Linked DNA regions of Homo sapiens: region 1 is linked to region 2. Evidence: promoter capture Hi-C in 16 types of primary human blood cells and fetal thymus (Javierre and others, 2016). All regions are on one chromosome and are shown on one strand. The core of a region is centred on a gene start or on the middle of the fragment in contact, and the rest is flanking DNA. Distances in the headings are between cores, read along the strand shown.

Region 1 (3,706 bases), core at 757-3,256, 2.2 Mb before region 2:
AGAAAACTGCCTCTGACAAAATAATACTGTGGACCGCTTTTATTCATTACATTTGAGAACTTCTTGTCATTCAAATGAAAAGATTAAGTACATTTGCAATCCACTAAAACAGATTAAAAACTCATTCATTTATTCAATAGATATTAAGTACATACAGTATGTTTAGTATACATTAATACTTGACAATCAATACTGGTTAACTGGTTTCCCTGGTTTAGAAATTTTCCTTAGCAACAACGTAAGGCTTAAAATGAAAAAAGAAAAGTGAGAAAATGTTCTACCACCAGGTGGTGACAAAAGATAAAATTTAAAATCGCTCTTAATGAGCACATACTTCATGTAATTCTTGAATACTGCAAATATAAGTGACTTCCGAATGTCATGTGAATTTAAAATCATATTCTAGGAATATTTTATTAATTAAAGCAAATTAATATTAACATATTATCTCTAGTTTAATAAGTGCTGGAATTGGAAGTGGACAGTTTTAGTCAGCAGGCGGCACTTGAGACCATGGAATAAGATATTTTAAACTATTTCACTACTGCTTTTTTTCCCCACCCGGCTTATAATTATTGATTGGCTGATTGAGATAGGAGCTGGTCACCTCCCTACACTTCCACTAGCAGGGATTTAATCAGAGGCTGAAAATCAATTGTCCTTTGAAAGTGATTTTTGCTAAAGATCAAGAGCAATATTTGGTTATATCTCAGCCTCTATCCTACAATATTTATCATTTTATAATGCTCTTTTGTGTAAGATACAATAAATCTTATTAATAACCAAAAACTGAATTATGAATTATTGCAATTCATTGGCCATCTACTTGGGCAATTACAATGGTTAGTAGCTCAGAAGCACTGATATTTGAGCACTGTATCTTCAGATTCCGAGGCCTGGGTTAGGATGCTTGCTGCTGGAAACACTGGCTGGAAAGCTTTCTTGTTCCATGTGGCTCTCAGGTCACCCTGAGAACTGGACACACTCGTAATTGGTTGATGGTAGGCTTGTATATTCATGAAATGTTGATTGGAAAGGCCTAGACAATCTCTCTAAATACATAATTGGACAAGATTGTTGAAAGGATTAGAGTTGGACACTATTCTAAAGTGGCACAATGTCTAAGCATAGAGGCTGGGGGTCTTCCTGTTCCCTGCACTTAATACCCTGGGAGCTAGTGGTGGAGAGCCACGTAATCCACATTTGAATTCTGGCATTCTGACTGCTGCATCCTTACTTTGTGGCTTCAGGGAAGCCATGGATCATCCCTGAGCCTCAGCCTCCTCATATGTAAAATGGAGATGACAACAATCCTGACTTGAAGGATAATGCACCATTGTATTTGCTTCCTCCTCTGTCTCTTCCTTCCTAGTTACCCCCTCCTGTTTCCTAAACTTACTTGCCCTTGCCTCCCCACCTCTACAGGGACTGCATGCACACAAGCCCTTTTCTCAGGTTGTGCTTTCTGGGCTAAACTGAGTTGAAAACAAAGAGCATCAGGAGATCTTCTAGATGGGACTGCTCACTGATCAGAGGGCAGTAGAACCCGTTTGCTGGTGGTGAATGGAATGGGACCGCCCCCGGCATGCAGTGTCAGTGCAATGACAAAGAGTCTCTGTGTGGGATGAGGTGGTAGTATGGGGTGAGAAGCAGGTTTATGCAGCAGCAGCGGCACTTAGACAGTATGAGGAAAATAACAATTGAAAGGAACATGTCATTGGATGGGTTTTTGATAGTTGCTTCAGAGCAGGGGCTGGCAAGCTATGACCTTCAGGCTGACCATCTGTTCTTGTAAATAAAGTTTTACTGGAACAAAGTCACAATCATTTGCTTATGTATTTTTCATGGTTGCTTTCACAATACAAAGCAGAGTTGAATAATTGCAAAAGAGAGCAATGTCCACCAGTCCAAAATATTTGTTATCTGGCCCCTTCAAAAAAGTTTACCAGTGCCTGTTTTGAAGGTTATTTTGGAAATACAGAGATTATATACAGAGATTACATCGTTTTCTAACTTAATTTGAAGACATGCCATAAAAGTCACTTTTATCTCCTGCAATCAGAGAGCAGACGATGCTGAAAATCTAAAAATGTATAATCTTATAGTTGTTTTATATTAAAGTTAGGGTCCTAATAGAAAAACTATGGGATTCTGATACATAAAATGCAGACATTTGGATGGATGAGCCCCAGATTCTCCTAGACCCTGCAGAGGCAGATGTCACCCCCTTGCTAGAAGAGAACACCCTTTTTTGGCCTACAGACTGTAAAGTTCTCAGCAGAGGCAGGTGCCTCAGAAGGATACTTGTCCTGCTCATCTTCTGCCCCATTTCCCCCTCATTCCTAGCCTCTTAAAGTCTAAAATTTCTTCGGGAACTTTTGTTAAGAAACACTGACCATATGTATTAGTCAAGATTCTTCAGAGAGATAGAACATATGTATTTAATGAGATTATGAGGAATTGGCTCAGACGATTATAAGGCTGAGAAGTCCCAAGACCTCCTGTCACCATGCTGGAGACTCAGGAAAGTCAGTGGTTTGATTTTAGTTCAAGTCTGCAGGTCTGAGAGCCAGGGGAGTCGATGATATAAATCCCAGTCCAAGGACAGAAGAAGACTGATGTCCCAGCTCAAGCAGGCAGGAAGACAAAGGAGGGGAAATTCTGAAATTCCTCCTTCCTCTGTCCCTTTTGTTCCATTCAGAGCTTCAGTGGATTGGATCATGCCCACCCACATTGGGGAGAGCAGTCTACTCTACTGGAGTCCACTGATTCAAATGTTAATCGCATCTGGCGACATGCTTACAGACACACCCAGAAATAGTGTTTAATCTAGGCACCCCTTGGCCTGGTTAAGTTGACACATAAAATTAACCATCACACCATCTGAATTATATTTCATAAATATTTTCCAAATTTATAAAATGGAAGCAATAGTGTATGTATCTAATATTGAAAGCAATATATGTTGTAAATATAACATATAGCATATTGGAAGACCTCTCTCTCTCTCCATAGTAAAAATTCTGGGAATCTGGAGGGGTGATAGCCAAACCAAAACCAGGCCCAACTTCACTATGAAGCTTGGTGGTGGTTGTCCATTCAGGTTTAATATCAATCTGATATTGATTCTAGTCAGGTATCTGGCTGAGATTTCCAGGATAGCAACAATGATTCCAGGAATCTTTCAATTGTCTGTCTGATCTAGAGAGATTTGGTTTGAGGAATGCTCATTGTGTGTGTAGTAGGTGGAGATCTCACACTTCAGGTCCCATGTCCTGGCTTCCAGAGCAGCGGCTGCCTGCTGTTTCCTGCCAGACTGATTCTACCCTTTATGTCGCTCCTAACTTAAGAACTCCAGTCCACTCAAGAGAGCCAGCTGGCAGGGGAAGGGAACTAATTGCCAATGACTTTATAATTGAATGTATATTTTTCTACAGTTTTGCTGTGACAATAATAATAATGCCTGATATTTGTTGAGTGCCTACTATATACCATGCCTACTTTATATACATAAGCTAATTAATGCTCACATGTAGATTTATTGCTATTAATATCCCTATATCATTGATGAAGTTACTGAGGCAGAAGTTTGGCTAGCTCACACAGATAATAATTGATGGAGTCAGGTAATCTGTTCTTTTAAACTTTAACACAATGTACTGTATATACACCTGTATTTAAAACATTGTAAGGGTGATGTGGTGTA
Region 2 (4,126 bases), core at 1,245-3,744:
ATAACTGGGATGAGAGGGTTGCTGTGATGATTAGATGAGAATTTGTGGAAAGTGCCTGGCAACAGTAAATTTTATATGCGTGCTTGCTACTATTATTATTAATTAAAAAAACCTTTTTTTTTGAGACAGGGTCTAGCTCTGTCACCCAGGCCAGAGTGCAGAGTCGGCTCACTACAACCTCTGCTTTCTGGGTTTTTTAGTAGAGACGGGGTTTCACCACGTTGGCCAGGCTGGTCTCGAACTCCTGCCGTCATGATCCACCCGCCCTGGGCTCCCAAAGTGCTGGGATTACAGGCATGAGCCACCGTGTCCGGCTGCTTATTACTATTATTATTATTGGTCATCATTTCAACAAATGTTTCTCAAGCACTTACGTTCAAGCACTGGCACTAAGATAACAATGAATGAAAGTAATAAAACAACTCTACTGGTGGGAGGATACCATGACATCAAAAACAAATTTATACGCCCAGCCCAGGTGCGGTGGTGGCTCACGCCTGTAATCCCAGCACTTTGGGAGGATGAGGTGGGCGGATCACCTAAGGTCAGGAGTTTGAGACCAGCCTGGCCAACATGATGAAACCCCATCTCTACTAAAAATACAAAAATTAGCCAGGTGTGGTCGCCCACGCCTGTAGTCCCAGCTACTAGGGAGGCTGAGGCAGGAGAATCGCTTGAACTGGGGAGGCGGAGGTTGCAGTGAGCTAAGATCATACCTCTGCACTCCAGCCAGAGCAACAGAGCAAGACTGTCTCAAAAAAAAACAAAAAAGAATTTTTGTACCCAGTGAATAACTGCTATGAAGAAACCTGAAAAAGAAAACAAGGATAAGGGAAACAATGAGGCAGCAGGGGTGAGACTGCACACAGCATTGTCAGGAAAGGCCTTTCTCCTAAGGTGACTGTAGGGAAGAGACTTTAAGGAACTGAAAAAGGAGGCCATGTGTTTTTCTTGGCCAAGAGTGTTCAAGGGAAAGCGAACAGCATATTCAAAGGCCTTGAGGAAGGAGGGTGCTAGAACAGCTGGCCAGAGCACAGTGAGCTGAGGACACGGGGAATAGAAGAGTTTAGTAAGGAAATGTGGGGCAGTTTATGTTGGGACTAGTAAAGCATGGCCAGAATTTTGAATTTTATCCCGACTGACATGTAAGAGCTACAAGAGAGGTTTGACTTATGAAGATCCCCACACTTGCTGCTATGGAGAAAAGTGAAAGGAAAAGTGGGGTGACCAGATATAGACACCGCAATAACTAGGGAGAGATGATGGTGGCTTTGATAGGATTATAGTGGTCAAGTTGGTGAGCTTCAGGTTCTGGATACATGCAGAGAACAGAGGCAACAGGATTTACAGATGAATTACATGAGACACGGAAGAATGACTCCGGGGCTTTAAGGTACTGAAAGTATGGATCTGCCATTTATTTAGACGTTGATGGTCATGGGGAGCTGAAGCTTGGTTTTAGACACAAGTAATGAAGTGCCTACTAAGACACCTGTTAAATAGAGAGGTCTAGCAGGCAGTTAGATGTATAGTTTTGAAGTCTACGAGAGACTCAGCTAGATATATAATCTTGGGAGTCAACACTTATTTGGAACTATATATTTGTTTAAAGTCTCCCAGGGAGTGAGTAAAGTTGGGAGAGGGTGCTATTGAATTGGAGGTATCGAAGATGAAATGGGATTAGCAAAGAAGAACGGGACGGAGGGACTCTTGAACGGACAACTACGGGAGTGATGTCACAGGTCATTTATCTGCCAAATTATTTTCGCTTAAGAGATTTCAGTCCTTCCAAAAAACCCTCAAGATAATTTTATGATTCAAGATTTCAGCGAATGCTGTAAGATAATAGACTGTGGCCGGGCGCGATTGCTCACGCCTGTAATCCCAGCACTTTGGGAGGCAGAGGAAGGGGGACTGCTTGAGCCCAGGAGTTCAAGATCAGCCTGGGTAACATAGTAAGAGCTCGCCTTTATTATTTTTTTAAAAAATAAAATATATTTAAGAGAACGCAGACTGAAACTTGAGATTTCTGAGTGGAATAATATCTTTTCCTTGCAGATTTTTTTTTGAAGAACAGAGCAGGGTACCCCGCGACCCAAGCCAAGACGCTCTCAGGAAGAAAGCCCAGCACGCAGCCGCCCTCGCACCCTGATTGCCCCCGGGGCGAGGTCCCCGGCTGGAGCAGGGCTGCAGAAGCCGGGAAGCAACGCCGAGGACCGAGCCGACCGATGGGCGCATGCAGTGAGGGGAACCGGGGCCGCCATGCCGGGCACGTTCCCAAAGGGTTGCACTGGGCGCTGCAGCGTGGGAAACCCCCGTGGCGGTCACCACTGGCGCTAGCTGAGGCGAGACTCACCTTGAGCCGTGGCCCCCTCACTGCTGTAACCCGGGTTCCATGGCTGCATGGACAGCTCAATTTTCATCAGAAGGGAGCCTCAAAATTCTAGCATACTGCGACCCAAAACTTACAAACCGCCTCAGCTGGCGACCTACCGGAAAAAAAAAAAAAAAGCATGCGGCGCATGCGCGTCCAAGGCCGCGGACCGGAAGCTGGGGCTCGCCTGTTGGGAGCCGCGTCCGCCGGTGTTGGTGTCTGCACTTGGAAGGACGTAGGGAATGCGTTGTCCCTGCTAGGTACTTTTCAGTCGCAGAGTTCTCTTCTTCTTCTTTCTTTCTTCCTTTTTTTTTTTTTTGAGACGGAGTCTCGCTGTGTCTCTCAAGCTGGAGTGCAGTGGCGCGATCTCGGCTCACTGCAGCCTCCGCCTCCTGGGTTCAAGCGATTCTCCTGCCTCAGCCTCCCGAGTAGCTGGGATTACAGGCGCCCACCACCATGCCCAGATAATTTTTGTATTTTTCAGTAGAAATGGGGTTTCACCATGTTGGCCAGGCTGGTCTCGAACTCCTGACCTCAGGTGATCCACCGGCCTCGGCCTCCCACAGTGCTGGGATTACAGGCCTGAGCCACCGTGCCCGGCCGGAGTTTTTCTACTTAATACCTCTCCATGCCAACCCCGTTGTCATTTCCCAGCGGCCGCCTCTATAACGGGCACTTTTCAGGGACAAAGAATTGGTCCGTTAATGTTCCTCAAATTCGAACGCGCCTAGGAATAGTTCGGGGATCCTGTTGAAGTGCAGATCAGGATTCCGTAGGTAGGGGTGGGGTTCCAAATTCTACATTTCTAGTATCTTCCCACACGATGGTGATCCTCCTTGTCCCTGAATCATGGAGGAGGGCAATTAGGGAGATGTGAGCCTGGATGCATGGTGGCCTTGGCTATCTTAGGTGTTCTTGCCCATTAACCAAGCTGGGAGGAACCGTGTGAATGCATATCTATCCCTGTTAATAAAAGGGTAGTTTGAAGGAGATGCTGACAGGAGAATAATTAGAAATGTTTTTCTTCCCAATCCAACTATATGCAATACACTTTATAATATTCATTTTAGAAATGTCATAGATAAGATTTGTAAACATTGACATTTAGCAATACTAAATATCACTGCTAGGTCTCCCCTCCACTTTTTTTTTTTAAACAAAAATACGACAGTATGTATTGTAGGTCTTCATAAACTACGTCTTCTGCATAGTGTTTCATGAGCGTTTTTCAATGTCATAATTTATTTTTTCCTCCAACATTTATTATGAAAAAATTCAAGTGTAAAGCGAAGTCGAGAGAATTTTACAGTGGAGCAGACCTCAAGAGAAGGGGAAGGATGGATTTCCCCTCTATTTAGCAGTGTCTGAAGACATTTTGGGTTGTCACAACTGGAAGGATGGTATTGGCATGGGGTAGGTAGAGCACAGGGATGTTCCTCAACTTCCTACAATGAACAGGACATCCCCCGACAACAACAAATTTGCTGGTCCAAAATGTTGATAGTGTTGAGGTTGAAAAACACTGACCTGGAGAGTACAGAATTTTACTCTACCAGCTTTGTCACATACCTCATCAATCTATCTGTTTTCATACATTTAAAAGTAAACTGCAGACAGTACGCTTCTAAGTACCTCTAATGCACATCATTGGAGTTCAAATTAAGGATTTTTTAAGGTAAAAATGAAATGCATACCTTAAATACACATCAGTTTTTAAATGCACACGCCTATGGAACTCAAGCCATATTAACA

What was found. The method cuts DNA at HindIII sites, captures the fragments that hold promoters and counts their contacts. A CHiCAGO score of 5 or more calls a contact.
Region 1: a contact is called between a fragment that was not itself captured here and the fragment with the promoter of RWDD2B in region 2, in 1 of 17 cell types (fetal thymus). The highest score is 6.1, in fetal thymus.

The regions. Positions count from the first base shown.
Region 1 is chr21:26,849,933-26,853,638 of GRCh38, forward strand. No RefSeq gene overlaps it. Among named protein-coding and RNA genes, the nearest start is that of ADAMTS1, 6.4 kb to the left of the region's middle. RefSeq lists an enhancer at 2,409-2,976. The HindIII fragment of the contact is 2,143 bases long and covers 936-3,078 here.
Region 2 is chr21:29,016,855-29,020,980 of GRCh38, forward strand. It overlaps RWDD2B (RWD domain containing 2B), which reads right to left and starts at 2,495. Exons shown (of 5, transcript NM_016940.3): 1 at 2,357-2,495. The coding sequence starts at 2,423. It overlaps LOC124905005 (a long non-coding RNA gene), which reads left to right and starts at 732. Exons shown (of 2, transcript XR_007067836.1): 1 at 732-1,393; 2 at 2,059-4,126. RefSeq lists an enhancer at 2,336-2,585. The HindIII fragment of the contact is 4,408 bases long and covers 1,450-4,126 here.